4 separate regions of the Homo sapiens genome follow, and regions 1, 2 and 3 are each linked to region 4. The links are contacts of gene promoters, found by promoter capture Hi-C in blood cells and fetal thymus (Javierre and others, 2016). All regions are on one chromosome and are shown on one strand. The core of a region is centred on a gene start or on the middle of the fragment in contact, and the rest is flanking DNA. Distances in the headings are between cores, read along the strand shown.

What was found. Contacts are between HindIII fragments. The CHiCAGO score rates a contact against its expected background, and 5 or more counts as called.
Region 1: a contact is called between a fragment that was not itself captured here and the fragment with the promoter of COX11 in region 4, in 1 of 17 cell types (naive CD8 T cells). The highest score is 6.9, in naive CD8 T cells.
Region 2: a fragment that was not itself captured here is called in contact with the fragment with the promoter of COX11 in region 4 in 6 of 17 cell types (fetal thymus, non-activated CD4 T cells, naive CD4 T cells and 3 more); the score reaches 9.6 in fetal thymus.
Region 3: a fragment that was not itself captured here is called in contact with the fragment with the promoter of COX11 in region 4 in 7 of 17 cell types (fetal thymus, non-activated CD4 T cells, naive CD4 T cells and 4 more); the score reaches 8.6 in fetal thymus.

Annotation. Positions count from the first base shown.
Region 1 is chr17:55,324,979-55,329,431 of GRCh38, forward strand. HLF (HLF transcription factor, PAR bZIP family member) reads left to right here. Exons shown (of 4, transcript NM_002126.5): 4 at 1-209. Among named protein-coding and RNA genes, the nearest start is that of HLF, 62 kb to the left of the region's middle. RefSeq lists an enhancer at 2,750-3,044. The HindIII fragment of the contact is 9,433 bases long and covers 1-4,453 here.
Region 2 is chr17:55,236,285-55,241,027 of GRCh38, forward strand. No RefSeq gene overlaps it. Among named protein-coding and RNA genes, the nearest start is that of HLF, 26 kb to the right of the region's middle. RefSeq lists a silencer at 1,919-2,388. The HindIII fragment of the contact is 1,167 bases long and covers 2,718-3,884 here.
Region 3 is chr17:55,257,950-55,262,839 of GRCh38, forward strand. No RefSeq gene overlaps it. Among named protein-coding and RNA genes, the nearest start is that of HLF, 4.6 kb to the right of the region's middle. The HindIII fragment of the contact is 2,378 bases long and covers 860-3,237 here.
Region 4 is chr17:54,967,296-54,971,981 of GRCh38, forward strand. COX11 (cytochrome c oxidase copper chaperone COX11) reads right to left here and starts at 1,359. Exons shown (of 4, transcript NM_004375.5): 1 at 986-1,359. The coding sequence starts at 1,351. It overlaps STXBP4 (syntaxin binding protein 4), which reads left to right and starts at 1,470. Exons shown (of 18, transcript NM_178509.6): 1 at 1,470-1,520. RefSeq lists enhancers at 429-1,378, 1,228-1,287, 1,298-1,377, 1,379-2,327, 1,558-1,657 and 1 more. The HindIII fragment of the contact is 10,915 bases long and covers 1-1,619 here.

The DNA of each region.
Region 1 (4,453 bases), core at 597-3,096, 360 kb after region 4:
GATATTGGTGGTATTTATGCTGTTAAGTCCAAACCTTTATCTGTCTGTTATTCTTAATGTTGAATAAACTTTGAATTTTTTCCTTTCTTTCATGTATTTTTATTAACAGTTGGCTAGCAATGGTATTCTGTTCCCACCTCGGTAGCAAAGAGACCATTTGTAGAGATTATTACCTAGATAATAAAATGATAATACTATATAATTAGTAATAAATTAACATTTATTGGGTAGTTATGTGCCAGACACTGTGCTAAACACTTAGATGGAATATTTTATTCCATATTAGCTCTATGAGGTAGGGACAATTATTATCCCCATTTACAGAAGACAAAATGGAAAGTTAGGAGAGTCACGTAGCTTACCTAATGTTACAGAGGTAAAAGTGGCTGAGATGAATTCTGATCCCTGGAGTGGGCATTATTTAGAGGGGTGGTTCCCAAAAGCCAGTCCACAGACTGTCTTGTTCTCTAATATATAAAGAATAATTCAGCAACATCTAGGAGTATAAATCCAGAGATTCTGAATCAGTAGTTCTTGGATGGGGCCCAGAAATCTGAATTTTTAAACTGATCCCAGCCAACTTCCATCTGCAGCCAAGTAATTGGTGTCAAGGATTTATAGACTTGGCTCTTAATTCAAGTTCATGACCCTTGGGGGATCCACGCAGAGGCTTCAGAGATGCCATAATTATCTGAAATTGTATGCAACTTTTTATGTATAAACATTTATTTTGCTGTAGAGAAGACTTGTAGCTTTTTTTTTTTTTTTTTTTTTTTTTACTTCCCTAAAGGAACCTGTGATGCAAGGCGGAATAAAACCCCTGATTCATGTAAGAAGGCTGATGTAGAGCAGTGGTTCTCAGCCCAGGGAGCCCAGTAGATTCACCTGGGGAGCTCAAAACCGGCTGTGTGGGGCTGCAGCCCAGGCCAAGAAACTCAGCATCTCCGGCATAGTGAGAAGGGGGCTCTGTGTTGAGGAGTACAATTCTGGATTCAAATCTGTCACCTAGTGGGTATGTGACCTTGAGCAGCTTCTAAACCGTTTTGAACATAATCTCATCTGTGACATGAAGGTATACTCACTTCTGAGGGTTGTGGGGGGAACTAATGACAACAAATGAATTGTCTCTGGCACATCCGAGGCCTTCAACAGATAACTACATGGGGCCCACGAGAGTAGAATGGATGCCTTGAGCATTTTTCCAATTCAATATTTCAGACTATTCGTTCCTTCAGAGAGGACGGAAAAGAATTCCCCTGCTCATATGCCAGAGCAGGATGGCTGATGGTATGGGAATGGGTGGTAGAGACGTTGTTTCATAGTGTGACTTCACCAACAGTTCATAGACTAGCGCCAGCTTTGTGCACAAGGTCGATGGGCATCTCTTACTTGGTGACAACCTCTAGTTAAAATTGAGTGGTTACAAGTTAGGGTTCAGCTCTATTTTCATCCATCAAACACCTTTCACCTTTTTGTTGTTGTTGTTGTTGAGGTGGAGTCTCACTCTGTTACCAGGCTGGAGCGCAGTGGTGCGATCTCAGCTCACTGCAACCTCAGCCTCCTGGGTTCAAGCGACTCCTGCCTCAGCCTCCCAAGTAGCTGGGACTACAGGCACGTGCCACCATGCCCAGCTAAGTTTTGTATTTTTAGTAGAGGCAGGGTTTCACCGTGTTGGCCAGGATGGTCTCGATCTCTTGACCTCGTGATCCACCCACCTCGACCTCCTAAAGTGCTGGGATTACAGGCGTGAGCCACTGCACCCAACCCACCTTTCACCTTTCTCAGAGGAATAAGAATAGTGACCTTAGCTTAAGAATAGTGACCTTAGCCTAAGATTCTTCTGGGGCATCTTCAAATCTCTTGGAGGAAATGACTTCATGCCTGGAGAGCATTTGGATCCGAGATGGCAAGAACTGATATGAAGCCAAGCTGCGTAGACTCCCAGTCATACACAAGTCCTCAGTCCCTGGGGGCCCATCACATGCTGCATGTAGGATGGCTCTTCCATGCACACTTAAGCATAAGATGCCACCCAATCAAGCCCCTCTCTTCAAAGCATACAACTTCAATTTCCTTGTTGAAAATCATTGGCTTAGAAGTCTCTTTGGACATCTTTAGCTAGGAACTGGGTGAGAACTTTGAAATCTTGTCTTTGTGGTCAGAAGATGGCTTCTTGCTAATAAATCAAAAGGACCCTTTGGAGGAGATAGGACTAGTCAAAGGTGGCAAGCATCCTCTGCCTCTCTGGGTTTTGAGTCAGGGAGGACTTGGATCCAAAGTCCCTGTCTCTAACTTCTTTTTATCCTGCAAAGCCTGGCACAATGCCTGGAAATGGTATAGAGAGATAACAGTTACTGAGTCCTAAACCTGTGCCTTCCACATCTCATTTAATCCTCACACTACAAAACAGGTACTATTATTATCCCTGTTTTGCAGATAAAGAAACAGGCTTATGGAAATTAGGTAATCAGCATTTTTAACCCAGACCAAAGCCTGACCCCAGAGTTTGACAGGGGTGGGAAACATCAGGAGTTTACCAAACCTATTTATTTACCTTCTGGACATTCAAGTAGACCACTTTTTCCAGACTCCCTTACCTCTAGTATGACCATTCAACTGAATTCTGTCCAAAGGAACATAAGCAGAAGTAACCCCAGGTGTCACTTCCATGAAAGGCCCATAAACAGTGCCACCTGATGCTCTCTCTCTCCTTTTTTTCTGGCTCCTGGAGAAGATGGAGACTAAGAAGGAAGGGACCCAGGTCCCTGAGTATATGGCAAACGCACCTGACAGCAATAACTTCAGCATACTCTGAGAATGACCCTGTATGGCAGACACAGCTGAATGTGTGTTCAGAGTTCCAAGCTCAGGAATCTGGGAGTGGCCAGCCTGGAGGTTCATTCTTTATCTGTGACGAACATCTGAACCCTCAGCCTGTCCCAAGGACCACGAGCCATACAGGGGATCATAGTCCTCTGTTTTGGGTTAAATGAAGGTTGTCAGGTGGAGGTTGTTAAGGGGAGGGTGCGAAGTGGAAATGCTATTTTATAAACTACATACTATTTGCAAGTGGTTGTAGTTCTGTCTGGCCCACTGCCACTGGACCATCCCTACATGTAAATTTCCTCTAATAATAATTTATATCTCATTTGCTAGCTCTGGGTTTCTTCTTCAGCCTCTCAAACATGGTTCCTTCCCTGTTGAGATTAATAGGGGTCTGGCATGACACTAAGTCATCAAACTGTTACACGAGGAAGGAAAAAGCCTCGCTGTATTAAACCATTGAGATACTGGGGTTTCTTGTTGCATGGCCTAACTGCTGATTAGCCTAACCCTAATATGAGGACCTTCTTCTGAAGCCCAGTGTCCTTAATTTGAGGTCTTGACATCTTTGCCAGGTTCCCAACTGTAATCTAGGCTCATCACCCCTCACATACCTGACTTTGAGGTTTGTCCACCTTCTGGACAGACCTCCCACCCTGGTTAGGCTAAGCCTACTGGGTTGGACCTTCAGAACATCACTGCCTACCTCTTCCCTCCATTTATCCTGCGTTTGAACACTGTCCAGAATTGTTCAATTGCTCTCAGGGTGTATTAGTCCATTTTTGTGCTGCTGTGAAGAAATACCTGAGACTGGGTAATGCATAAAGAAAAAGAGGTTTGATGGACTTACAGTTCCACATGGCTGAGGAGGCCTCACAATCCTAGCAGAAGGTGAAGGAGGAGCAAAGGCACATCTTACATGGCAGCAGGTGAGAGAGTATGTGCAGGGGAACTGCCCCTTATAAAACCATCAGATCTTGTGATACTTATTCACTATCACAAGAACAGCACGGGAAAAACCTGCCCCCATAATTCAATTACCTCCCACCAGGTCCCTCCCATGACACAGGATTGTGGGAGCTACAATTCAAGACAAGATTTGGGTGGGGACACAGCCAAACCATATCACAGGGGAAGCAGCCTCTACTTCCAGATCAGCTTTTCTACTCATTATCCTCTCCCGAATCCAAATTCTCTCCCTGGCCACTCAGTGCCCCCTTCATCCCCAGCCCCAGTTATTCAGGTACTCACTTCAAGATGAGGCCTACCATTTCTTAGAGCACTGGTCTTTCAGTTTTTTTGCTCACATGCTCCCAAAAATTCTTTTTAAACCATGAATCCACATTGCACATTATAAAGTTGACAACTAAAATTTTTTTAATCACAAGTTTAAATAGTTGCAAAGGATGTAATAGCTGCTCTAAGTACTGGCATTTAAAAATAAGCTACTACATGACTCTTTTTAATATATCTGATGAACTATTAAAACCCTAGTGATTTACTACCAACCAACATCCATTTGAAAAATAGAGTTGGAATTTGTACACCACTTTTTTTTAATCAAAATAATTATTTACATTGTGTTTCCTCACTGAGTTTGTCTCTTATGTAATATATTTTTATGCCTCAA
Region 2 (4,743 bases), core at 2,051-4,550, 270 kb after region 4:
ATAATTCTGCCATAATGGTATCACTGATTTCTCATTATAACTCAAGTAGTTTTGCTAGATTGGAGATAGACTTTTCTGATGTGTTCATGCTCTTACTCCATCACTGGGAAGGTATACAGTAGAGGGAAAATGCAAGTATACTGCCTACATAATCTTCAGGAAGTCAAGAGCTATCACTTCATCCAGTTTGCCACACCAGAAAGAGGGAAATAATAGCGGTGGGAGTGACAGTAATGATTAAGAGGCATTGTGGTCACTTCACACCATCCATAGGCTGTCTTTTTTTTTTTTTTCTTTAGCTCCCCTCAAAGCACATGGACTAATAGAGTAACACAAACGAATTGGCATAATTCCTTCTCCTGCTATTGTTACTAGTTCAAGTGTGGGCACTTGCCCCAACTTGAGGCCAAGAGTATAGGGAGGATGTTTACTTGCTGCTTCTGGGAAGAAGCACTTTTACTAAATGAGACTTTCCCAAAGCTTTACTTTTTTTTTTTTTTTTTTTTTCTTTTTGAGGCAGGTTCTCACACTATCCCCAAGGCTGGAGTGCAGTTGGGATCTCAGCTCACTGCAACCTCCGCCTCCCAGGCTCAAGTGATTTTCGTGCCTCAGCCTCCTGAGTAGCCGGGACTGCAGGCGTGAGCCACCACGCCTGGCTAATTTTTGTATTTTTTAGTAGAGACGGAGTTACACCATGTTGCCCAGGCTGGTCTCGAACTCCTGAGCTCAGGCAGTCTGCCCGCCTCAGGCTCCCTAAGTGCTAGGATTACAGGCGTGAGCAACCGCTCCCGGCCTCCCAAAGCTTTAGATGAAGCTGACACTATGGAAACCTTGGCAGAAGATTAGAAAGAAACAAGTTCCTGATGGCATTGTTTAGCAGGCAAATCGATGTATCCCTGAAATCCAACATCCAATCTGAAGTTAAATGAGCTTTACCGTTCAAGCCACTTAGAGTTGGACTTTTAGTTAACTTGCAACCGAATATAACCGGCACATATGTACTAACCACAGTGATAATAATATCTGCACTACAAACTCACAATCGGGAGAGTAAAAGCTAATCACATATGTGAAACTGCTGTGTCAGCTTTATTATGCAAGTATTTGTTGCTGAGAGCCTCTTGGTTAAGATACTTTCCCTCAAGAGACAGAACTTGAAAAGAATCTTAAAGATGTGGAGGGCTTCGGTTGTTCATATCGGGATTTTAAAAAACGTCTCAACTGTGTATCAGAAAGCTTAAGACATTAAGATTCAAGCTGAACAGAACAGGAAATGCGGCAGATACTGTACATGACAAACTTTCTAGGAGGAAATGATTTACATAAAAGCTGGTGCCCAGCACAGGGTAAGTGCTAAATAACTGTTTTTAAATGTTATTTGGAAAAAAAAAAAAAAAGATTAATCATCCATGGTACAAAATTTAAAAGTTACATAAGTATGGAGTCTCGCGTCTTCCCTGACCCCCACCCCCAGTCATCCAATATATTTTTCCAGAACTAGTCTGATCATAACATATATACATATATAATTTTTTTCCTCACAAATGTCAGCATCCCAGACACTGTTCTGCATCATTTTTTTTTACAAATCACATAATGTATCTTGAAGGTCTTTCCATATCAGTGTCTAGAGAGCAGAGTCTATTTGTTTTTAAGAGCTGCAGACAACTTCAAGTGTGGCCCAACCATAATTTACGTTTCTATGAATTTAACCGGTGTTATCGTTGGACATTTTGACTGTTTCTGGCCGTTTGTGATGTCCAACAATGATGTAATGATTATCCTTGCAGGGACTTCACTTCGCAGGAGCAGAAGCCCATTTGCAGGATAAATTCTGAGTTGCGGAACTAGTGATTTACAGGGCAGAGGTGCAGTCTTTGTCTTAATTTCTGAATTCACGAATGTTGAATGTGATGAATTCGTGGGAAGCCCCGCAGGGAGCCTAAGCAGCTCTCCAGAGGCTGTGGTTGTCACGGATGATGATTGCGGGACCCGCAGACTGAGTCTCCAAGCGCTCCGCCCCGCCGCGCCCCTCTCCGCGGGTCCCACCGCGGACCCGCCCCTGCGCGCCCCGGGCCAGGAGCCCCTAGCTGCAGGACCAGGCACGTGCGATTCCACGTGAGCCTCCCGGCCGGAGCGCAGATGGGAAGTGCGCATGCGCCTACCGCCTGGAAAGTAGGTCAGACTCCTCCTCTCACGTGACCTGCTCCCCTTAGCTACCCTCGGCGCCTCCCCGCCGGGGCGCAGCCGGGATGCGCTCGGCAGCCAACGTGACGGGGCTGGGCGCGGGCGGCTCCGCGAGCGCCCAGCGCCCGCGAGGATTTGCCGGTTCTCCTCACACCCGAGCGCTCCGCTCAGAAGTCGGGCGGGCAAAAGGGAGCGCCTCGGGAAGTATCTGGGAGCCGGGCTGGAAATGAATGGGGCCCGGAAGCGAGCTCAAATCGCTGACACCTGGCACCGGGCTGCGTCCACTTTCATGCTTCCTAAGGCAGTTCTGCCTGCAAGAAGGGAACGCGCATCGCCTTTCAGTAGATCACACCGATCGTTTGCACGTTTGCATTCTCAATTTCTGCACTATATAGGGCAACTCAGACATGAAAACAATCTTTGTAAGAAGAAGTGGAATGCTAATGGTTCCTGGAGTTTTGCAGGAATATTCCACCGGCCCCATTTCTAATCTCCCACTCACTCCCTCCCCAAAGACACTCCTACTAGAAAGCTTATCGGTAGATTTCTCACCTTCCACAAGAGACTTCAGGGGCGCTGCTGCTGCTGCTGCTGCTGCTGCTGCTGCTGGAGGCTGGAGGGGGTTGGGAGCAGGGAACGAAGGCAGGTCTGAATTAGCTGAAGCTAAATTCTATATATCAGAAATAATTTTATTTATTGCCCCATTGCTTTCTGATTTTTAACTTGTTGCACAAATGACAGACTCTGCCTCAGTGAGTTGCAATCCAGTGGAGGGCACTAACAGGCAAAATCATGGGTTACAATGCAGTGGGCTATACATGTTTTAATAGAGGTGTGCCCAGGTGTTATATAAGCACAGTGGTGGGTACCCTGAGTCTTGAAGACTAAGTGGGAGTTAGCTGGCAGAGAAATAAGGCAGAGGGGGTGGAAAGTGTTCCAAACAAAGGGAATAACTAATAGTTACATAATATTTTCCTCTAAGAAGTTTTTACTATAATTGTCTTAGTCATGCATATGGTTAGAATATGTATTGTTTACATTTATATTATTCTAAGACAGTCTTGAATGAACATTGTTGTGCATGAGGCTTCCCCCCTCCACTTTTAATAACCCCTAGGAGTGGGATTGCTATATAAAAGACACAAATATTTTGTAACTTTTGATAAAGTATTGCCAAATTATTTTCAAAAATATGTTGTACTCATTTGTACCAATATTTAGCCTTCAGTCAGTAAATTGCCCGTTATTTCAAATCAATGAAGCCTTATGACATTAACACTTGATTCATTAGAATATGCCAGAAATCATAATACACATGCATTTCTGCTTTATATGACCCATGACAAAAGTCTAATTGAATTCAAGTTTAAAAATGGGAAAATATCGGATCAGTACATTTCATTCTTACAGGGAACACCTAACATGGACAAGGTGGGAGGTGGGGGCAGGAGTGAAAGTGGGACAAACTAAAGCCTCACCAAATGCCTGTCTCTGATTGCTCTTTTCTTACTGTACGTCTAGGGTAAGAGATAAAGCAGCTCACACAAGCCAGAACAAGCAAAGAGGTTTTCACACCCCTCTGCAAATGTCAGAACAGTAGCAGAATCAAAGGGACCTAGGGTTTGACCTCTTCAGAGGTCACTTTAACTTGCAGCAGAAAAGCTGATCAGGTGTTGATGAATTTCTGGAAGCCTGCAAGCTTCCTAACTCAATTTCTGTTGGCATCTGTATCTGCAAGAAGAAAACAATACTGTGACATTAGAACATTTGTGACGAAAGGTAATGTAAGTAATGTGGACAATGAAAGGAGAACGTATCTTGGTTTTGCCTGTATTAAGCTAGATCACTAAGGAAATCTGAAGCATGGAACAGAGTTATAACTTTTCAAACACATGGTTGTAGTTCATACTGCGGTTATTTTCCTAATATCTATCCTTCACCTTGTGTATCAGTCTTATAATTTCAGCTGGTGGGGGGCCTTACCTCCTCTCTCAGTTCAGGGGTTGGGCTTGACCAAATTAACAAATCAGGGTGGTCCCATTGTTTTTTGTTTCGTTTCGTTTGGGTTTTCTGTTTATTTATTTGCCTTTAAAATTTTATTATAATAACATTTAACATGAGATCTACCCTTCTAAAATTTTTTAAGTGTGAAACATTATTGTTGATTATAGGTGCAATGTTGTACGGCAGATCTCTAGAACTTATTCATCTTGCTTGACTGAAACTTTATGCCCACTAATTGGTAACTCCCCATTTTGTCCCCTCCCCAGCCCCTGGAAACCACCTTTCCACTTTTTGAGTCTTTGAATTTGACTATTTTGAGTTCCTCAGATAAGTGGAATCATGCAGTGTTTGTCTTTCTGTGACTGGCTTATTTCACTTAGCATAACGTATGCAAGGTTCATCTATCTCATTTTATATTGCAGAATTGCCTTCTTATTATGGTTGAATAGAATTCCATTGTATGTCTATACCATATTTGCTTTATGCATTCATCTGTTGATAGACATTTAGTTTGTTTCCACCATTCCTCTTTTTATGAGGATTGAAAGAGTT
Region 3 (4,890 bases), core at 799-3,298, 290 kb after region 4:
AATTAAAGACTAGATTCTGAGTCATGGTGATTTTCTGCCTCTACAGCTCAACTGTCTCTACCTTCAGTTGCATTTACTAGACTTGAAATAATTTTAAAGTGTTAGTTAATCCACAAACTTCTATTCCTTCACCCTTTATGAAGATATAGGAAATATCTATTCTTTCCTGACTCTGGCTGAGTGGCTATTTGGAATCTGCTATATTTGATTTTTTTTATTGAACTTCAAACTTGTGTTTTTTGGTTTTTTTTAAATTATACTTTAAGTTTTAGGGTACATGTGCACAACGTGCAGGTTAGTTACATATGTATACATGTGCCATGTTGGTGTGCTGCACCCAGTAACTCGTCATTTAACATTAGGTATATCTCCAAATGCTATCCCTCCCCCCTCCCCCCACCCCGCAACAGGCCCCGGTGTGTGATGTTCCCCTTCCTGTGTCCATGTGTTCTCATTGTTCAATTCCCCTTTTGGAGACTGGGAGCAATAGAATGTAGCTGCCCCTGGTGAGAGAAAATGGTGAGAAGAAAAAAGGATGTGTGTTTGGATGAAAAGTAGCTTCTAATATCATGGACTACATCAACAGTTTTGCAGATTCATAAGTGGGAGCATCTCTGCAAAGGAGCAGAGAAACCAGAAAATGCAAAAAAGCCCCAAATAGCAAGCCCTCACATTTGTTTAGCGCTTCACAATGTACCAAGCACCTCCACATGAGTTATCTCATTTAATCCTCCTAGCAACTCTGCAAGCTGGGAAGCACAGGCATTAGTTTATATTTCACACAAAGAAACTTGAGATCAGAGAGGTTATCCAAGGTCACGGGACAGAAGCAGGATTTGAACCAGTTACAAACGGTGTAAGCTTATTGAATGAATGTTTGTCCTTCATTTACTGGAGCAAGGTTAAGAGTGCAAGCACTGGAGTCAAGCAGACCTGTTTTCAACTCATAGCTTCTCCATGTATTAGCTAGCCATAGGATCATGACAAGTCACTAATTTCTCTGGGCCTCACTGTCCTCATCTGAAAAATGGGAATAATGAAATATACCCTATATCATTGTCCCAAGTAATACATAAGATAATATATTTAACAGGTCTAATGTTGCTCCAGAACACAGTTAAACACACAATAATTTATGCCTTCTTCATGCTGTTGTTGGCATTTGTTGTAGTAGTAGAAGTAGTAATAGTGGCAGGTGTCAATGTATATCTGGCCCCAAATCCTGCGTTCATTCTATGCAACACACTGCACTGATTTTTTTTTCTTCTCCTTTTGCCACGCGTATTTTTTCTTTCTCTTTTATACAGTTTTCTTTCATCCTCCTTCCTATCACATGTATAGAAATCCTACCATCCTCTGATTTGAAACACACATACAGACACATGCCTGATTTAGTACCTCTTCTACCGATCTACCTGTCTTAGTCTTTCCCACTCATTTACCCAAACAATACAGGGCTCAGGGAAAGGACGGGGAAGCCTCAAGGAAAGCACAGGGAAGGACTCATGCTCCTTTACATAAGTCAGTCTCAGAGGAGGGCTTGGCATTCCCAACAAATGTTTTATTGTTTTGGTTTCCATGATCCTACACCAAGTGAAGAGATTTGAGGGTCTCCAGTAGTTAAGCTAATTAGATATAATTTTCCTTTTTGGTGCTTTAGCTGAGTTAGAGGTTTCAGGAAGGAGAGAAGGAAGAAGCCTGGGTTAGGCATATCTAGCCTAACTCCCACGTGATGCCTTTCACTTCTGAATTAATTCCCTGGATAAAGTACCCTTTCTGACAACGAGATAAACAGGTTCATCCAGAGGTTTGGCTCACTAGACTATAAAGCCCTTCATAACCACAGTGCTCGTCTCCATCCACCCCAGGCTCCTAGCCCCAAGTAGGCTACAGTGGCAGGCATTGTGTGCTCAACAAGGCTTCACACCCACTGGGAATCTGAAACATAAACACTGCTTACACTGCAAAGTTCTCTCTGCAGACCTGCAAGGCTGGTGCCAAAATGGCTGCCTCACGTCTGCCCCCACCGGGCTGCACAAAGGACTCCCCACCCAATCTCACTATCAAAACCTCTGAAATGACAGGACAGGTGGCAACCACTGGCTGGGCAAAAGGCTGATTTCCAGAACTTCAGAGGAGAGCTGTGCTGGCATCCTTTAAGAAGTTGATTCTGGGGAACGTTTCTTCTATGGTCATTCCTATTTTTAGGACAGTTTTAAACCTCCAGAGCTTCTGCTATTCCTTTCTCCTTGAAGGGCCAACTGAAGGGTTTTTCAGTGGCTTGTCAAATGTTCTTTATCTAGTATTTGTTTGTTCGAATTTCTCTAACAAAGAGGTTTAGTTTTGACTTACTGTTTAAGCACATGCAGGTTAAGACAGGAGCACTGAGGCATTACTAGTTGTAACCAAAGACATCCAATAGGCTTAATTATTTGCTCATACACAAAAAAGCAAATTGGATAATGCCTCTGCTTTTGGCTCTTATCTAACTTAATGTGGACAACTTTGTAGAGGTCTTGTCAACAAACTGAATGAGCCACTGAAAGTGAGGCATTCATTTTAGCCGTAAACTTTGGTGAACTTTTTTCTGTTGCTGGATATGAATCAGATCCCAGGAAACTTAGAAAGAACATAGAAATAGCATTATTCTGTCCTTAGTGATAAAATACCCATTTTTCCTCGGGATCAAAAGTTTGGGTCACCCACAAATACACAGTCAAATAATTGTCAGCAATAACATCAAAAGAATTCAAGGGGGGGCCGGGCGCGGTGGCTCACGCCTGTAATCCCAGCACTCTGGGAAGCCAAGGTCCACGGATCACCTGAGGTCGGGAGTTCGAGACCAGCCTGGCCAACATGGAGAACCCCGTCGCTACTAAAAATATTAATACTAAATACTAATACCCCATCGCTACTAAAAATACTAATAAAAATTGCCGGATGTGGCGGCTGGTGCCTGTAATCCCAGCTACTCAGGAGGCTGAGGCAGGAGAATTGCTTGAACCTAGGAGGCGGAGGTTGCGGTGAGCTGAGATCACGCCATTGCACTCCAGTCTGGGCAACAAGAGCGAGACTCCATCTCAAAACAAAACAAAACAAACAACAACAACAAACAATTCAAGGGGGAAATGAAAGTCTAAAACAATTGGATATCCCCATGAGTAAAACCAACCTTAATCCTTACCTCATAGTATACACAAAAATTAATTTGAAATGGGTCATAAGGCTAAATGAAAAAGCTTAAACTATGAAAGTTATAAAGGAAAGTATAGGAGAATATCTCCAGAACTCAGGAGTAGTCAAAAGTTTCCTAGTTCATAGCAAGCAATAATCATGAAAAACAAATTGATAAATTGAACTTTGTCAAAATTAAAAACTGCTCATGGAAAGACGTTATTATAAAAACTAATCAGCAAGCCACAGATTGGAAGAAAATATTCACAACACACAAACATCTGACAAAGAGACTATCCAAAGTATATAAAAGAACTCCTAAAATTCAGTAATCAAAAGATAACCAAATTCAAAAATGGGCAAGAGACTTGAACAGGAAGATGTACAAGCTACTAAGAAGCACATGAAGTAGCACATGCCATCATTTTTCATCAGGAAAATTCAGATGAAAGGTCCATTGAGAACTGACTATCCACCCACTAGAATGGCTACAAGTTTTAAGAGAAACTGACACCACTAAATATTGGTGAGGCGCTAGAACAACCAGAACTCTCATATACTGCTGCTGGAAATGCAGGACAATTTACCTGCTTCAGAAGACTATAGAAGAGCTTCTTCTAAAGTAAAACACACATCTTTTCTATGATCCAGTAATCCTACTCCTATTTGTTTATCCAAGAGAAAGGAAAGCATGTGTTCACAAAAGAACTCAGACAAGAATTCTCATAAACATTTTATTCATGCCTAAAAACTGGAAACAACCCAAATGTCCACCAATACAACAGATAAACTTTTGTATATTCATAGAGCGGAATACTACTCACTAATATAAAGAAATGAACTATATGCAACATTGGTGAATGTCTAAAATACTGTGCAGAGTGAAAGAAGCTACACACAAGAGAGTATATACAGTATGATTTCACTTGTATGAAATTATAAAACAAGCAAAATGAATCTATGGTGTAAGGAGGCCATGTAAAGAGAAAGAGAAGGCCAGCCAGCCCAGTATCCCAGCTGAGCCTAACCTAGATTGCAGAATAATGAGAAATAATAAAATGATTGTTGTTTTAAGCCACTAGGTTTTGGAGTGATCTGTTACACAGCAATCAATAATCAGCATCATTGCTTTCCTCATGGAATTGTCAGAAGTATGTGATATGACACATATGGAAGGGCTCTGTAAGTGGACAAGTGCTAAGCACTTGTGAGCGGCAGTTATCTCTGGGCATATGTGCAGATTGGGGTTAGTGCTCATTAGGGATATGTCCATTTGAGAATTAACCTGTGGAATTCAGAGGGTCTTACTACCCAACCAATATAACCTTTGGTTTCTTCTATCCCTCTCCTTCCTCTTGAGCAGCCATCCACAACTGCTTCTGGGGAAGAGAGAGAGAGAAAGAGAAAGAAAGATGTTCATGGTTTGTTAAAAAAATAAAAGAAAATAACATTTACAAATGGCCAGAGTAGAAAAGATGTACCAATTTCATTTATCTTGTTAAGGAATGGGGCTAGATTGAAGATTAGCCAATGCTTATAATTTTTGAGGCTCTAAGAAATACCTTTGAAGTTAGAGAAGGATGGAGAGAAGTGAGAGGGAGTCACCATGGTCTAAGGGGCTGGTCCTCAATCTGGTCCGTGACATGTTGATCAGGCTCAGGGAAATTAAATTAAATGAACCAAATTCCCAAGAAACTGCTTGATCAACCAGAACGC
Region 4 (4,686 bases), core at 109-2,608:
ACACTTACTGAATCACTTGTGGCATGATTTTTAAACCGAAATTCCTGTCCCTACCCTAGACTTCCTAACCAGAATCTCTGGGGTAGGGGATCCCTGGAACGTGTATTTAACGTTAAGCTCCATAGGTGATCCTAATGGCCAGCCAAAGCTGCAAATTATTAGCTAAGAACAAAGGAGAAATCTCTAAAATACGTGAAACTTGTCTTTGCCTGTGGTTCTCAAAACTTGCCCTCAAAATCAACTACAGGACTTAACTAAAATATAGAGTGCTGGTCCCACTCCCCTTCTTCTCCCCGCCCCACCCCCCCACCCCGTGTTTCTGACTCAGTCCTGGAGTCGGGCCCTAGAATTTGCACTTTTAACAGGTTCCCGGGTGATGCTGATGCTGCCGGTCCTGGGCGCCACACTCCCAGAACCGTTGCAATGTACTTAACAGTTTCCAGGTTAAGTACATTACAGTTATATATTAACAGGGGTGGGGCGAGAGAGCCTCAAAGGCCTAATTCATGCCTCTTTGTACGGAGGAACTGCTAATCCCAGTTTAAGCCCAAGAAACACGAGTAGTCCAATTTCCAGAGTTACCCTTGGCACATAAACCACATGTGGTTTGCAGAGTGAATGTATGAATAATACATTTTAAAAGCGTGTGTGCGCAGGAGGGTAAGGCAGACTGCTAGATACCCGGTTAGAGGCTGCGGACCTTTTTTTTTTTTTTTGGCGAGGTGCAGTTCATAGATCAGGGGTTTCACTCTGCAGCATGGTATAAGCACAATCACTAAGAACTGGATGCTACTTGCAGTTTTGTCACCAATTTCTTTGGTGACTTTGGGTGTTAAGTGACTGTTTTGAACCTCTCTCCTCTTAGGTAGATAATATCGGAAACCTCTTCCACCTACGACCCGCAGAGCGAGGGCTTGTCCCGGGATTTGTCTTGCACCCCCACCTCTCGCGTCTGCGCCACCCTGCGGGCGGCGCCGGCCCCTACCTGGCAATAGAGCCGATAAAGGGGTACGGCAGCGTAGGACGCCCCCAGCATGCCCACGGCGACAGCGGCCACGTAAGTGAGGGTCGTCTTGTTCTGCCGCCGCCGCTCCTCCTCCTGCGCGCGTGTGAAAGGGTTCGAGCTCTTAGGCCGCCGCGGCGGCTGCAATGCTGGATGCCGGGCTCGAAGGCTGCAGCGCTTCCATGTCCCAAGCCACCTCAGTCCTCTCTCGGCACCTCCTGTCCCACTCCACTCTGGCCTAAGAAACGGCTCTACCCTCTCTGCAGCCCTGGTTGGAGACCCAGGGTGGATCCAGCGCCAGCCACAGAAAGGAACGCACCTCCATCCAGGACGCCAGAGCCCTCCCATAACCCTCTGAACTAACACCCACCCGCCTCTCAGGGACGAGAGGTCAAATCTCGCGAGGCGTGCTCCGTCTCGCGAGATCTGGGTTGAGCCTGCCGCTGCCTTGGCTACCAGGCTCCTCAGGTGGCAGCGCTTGCAGTCGGGCTACGGAGGCCGGGTTGCCAGATTACGGGTAAGTTTGCGTTTTGCTTTGTGACTGTTACTCCCACTTCGCTTCTCGCCAGAACGTCTCTTAACATTTAGGAAAATGCGTTTCGCCCGTCCGCGTGCAAGCTTGCCATCACTTGGGGTTGCGCCTGTGATCTTTATTTAAACTCCACCAGCCTTTGTCTCGACCCGGCAGCCCCGGCGACGCTCTCCCGCGGTCTTTTCTCCTGGGGTCCCTTGGCCGCTGGCTCCTGTGCTCACTGCCCTGGACTTAGTTCAAGTATCACCTCTCTCAGGAAGCCTTGCTGTGTTAACCGCAGCCCTCATGGGCACCCACGACACCTGCATTTTCTCAGCCCGTGGGCAGTCGGCTTCCCCTGCTCTGATGCCCCTTACAACTTGCCCAGTGGAAAGCACCACAGCTGGAGCAGGAGGGAGGCTGTCACGCTGAAGTTTGTTCTGGAGAGAGTGACCAGGATAGGAGGGCCATTTAAGGAGAGACTGAAAGAAACGAACCCCGTGGGAGGATGTAATAGCTTTCTTCAGTTGTCCCACAGGACGAACTCGAGGGGGGCAGACAGCATAGCGGATTTTACTGTGTTAGAAGGAAGCATCTTTCTAGAAACTATAAAATAGCAGTTAAGAGCTCAGGTTCTGAGGTTAGGGGGTTCTGGATTTTTACCCGGGTCCTCACCATGGCCCTGTGCCCTTAGGTCAGTTACTTGTCCTCTAAGACCTGGTGTCCTTACTTGTAAAATGGAAATCAGAACAGTAAATGAATAATATTCATATAACGTCTTTCATGATGACTGAGGCATAGTAAGAATGTAGTTAAAAGTTAGGCTGTATTTCTACTTGCTACGTGGCCATTTCTAATGGCCAGAGCAGGTATAATTATCCCCACTATGTGGATGAGGAACTTGGAGGCCTGAGAAATTTTAACTAGTCATTCGACATTTTATTTATTTATTGCCCTCTCAACTGTGGGCCTGACACCAATCGACCTGCTGGCACTATAGCACAGAACAAGTCGGGAGATCACTTCAGTGATGGAGTGTCCTTTCTGCTGAGGGACTCAGAAAATAATCAAGTAACAGTTACCGAAATAAGGGAATTTCAGATAACAATCAGTGCAGTGAAGACAATGTAATAACATAGTATGATTGACAGTCATGAGAAGCGGTAGTAAAGTAAGGACGTTTTGAAGAGGTGACATTTGAGTTTAGATCTGAACGATGATAAGGAGCTACCTACTCAATAACAATTCCAGGCCAAGCAAAGGCCCAGGGGAAGGAAAGAGATAGAATGATTGAAGAACAGAAAGAAGGCCACTGTGTTCCCAACATAGCAGAGTGGAAAGTGGTAGGAAATGGGGTCAGAACAGGTAACAAAGGCCTGGTAATACCAGCCTTTTAAGCCATGTCCAAGGGTTTGGATTTTATTCTAAAAGTAATAGGAAGCTATTGGAATGTTTGACACATACAAGTGATGTGATCTGACTCACATTTTTGAAAAGATATTGATTACTTTGTGGAGAATGGATTAAAGGTAGGGGGAGGAATGGAAGTAGAACAATTAGGAAGCAATTGCAGTAGTCCACATGAGTGATGATGGTCACCTTGAGTGAGTAATTGATTAACTTGTGGTCACAGGGCCAGAAAATTGCAGAACCAATAAAATATAAATACCTTCTGACTTCTTTCTATACTCTGGCATACTGTCTCAAAAATTTCAGGTCTCCATGATTCTACAAATTTATTCATATTGTGTGATGACAGTGTTTGAAAATCTTTTTCATCTGCATGCACCTTGGTTCTTGTACCAGATTCTCAGCTCTTCTAGGATGAGATTTCTCAAAGTTTAATTTTCTTACAGCATAGACTGAAATCCTTGATACCAACAGTACATTTCCACTCACCATTCTGTTTCTCCAGGCACCCCTTCTTTGTAGCTCCAGGTAGCAGTATAAATATATGTCAGTATACAGTCTTTGTCTTGGACTCCAGTATTTCATTTTTTGTATAATAATTGCAAAATGAAACTCTTATGTACAGTGATATTGATAGCAATGAAGTGGTGTTGGTCTTTGTAGCTTTCTACTTTAATAAAAGAAAATATGCATTGTATCTGATCTTAGTATGATAATGTGAAATGACAGTTCATGTTTATGAAATACTTCTGAATGACAACTAAATATTTTGGTTTTTTACTTATATTTTGAATGAAATGTGTAGAACATAATTTAGTTCAATGTCCAATTAACAAACATATTAAACAATTTAAAATATTTCTGCAACATAATAGTACTCAAATTTCTTGTATACCCTTCACCAAGATTAGAGAATGATAAAGATTCTTCAGTCTTTATCTGCATACTTACTTGTTTATTTCCTATTACAAGAACACTTTCTCCTTCCAAACCACAGAGCAGGCATCAAAATCAGTAAGTTAATATTTATCCAGTATTACCATATGTAGTCAGCTTGGACTACCAATAGCAAAATACCACAGACTGGTTGCTTAAACAACAGAAATACTTGTTTCTCAAAGTGCTGAAGGCTGGAAAGTCAAAGATCAATGTATCAACTGATTCACTTCCTGGTGAGGGGTCTCCCTGGCTTGTGACATCTACCATCTTGCTGTGGCCTTACATAGATTGGAGTAAATGAGCTCTTATGTCTCTTATAAGGACACCAATCCCATGAGATCAGGTTCCCACCCTTATGACCTCATTCAACCATAATTACTTCCTAATCCAAATACAGCTACATTGAGGGGTTAGGGCTTCAACATATGGATTTTGGGGGATATATATTAAATTCTTTACATCATGTTATTCATGGACTCTACATAAATTACCCCATTTGTCCCAATCATTTCCATTTTAGATCTAGGATTTAATCCAGGATTACTCGTTGATTTTAGTTGTCATGCCTCTTCAGTCTTCTTCAATCTGGAATAGTTGCCAGTCTTTTCTTGTCTTTTTCTTTCCTTTTTTATTTTTATTTTTATTTTTATTTTTGAGAGACAAGATCTTGCTGGGTTGCTCAGGCTGGTTTCAAACTCCTGGCCTTAGGTGGTCTTGGTCTCCCATAGTGCTGGGATTACAGGCATGAGCCACCGCACCCAGCCTTATCTTTCATGACTTTGACATTTTTGAGGAATACAGGCTGGTTACGTGATTAAATGTG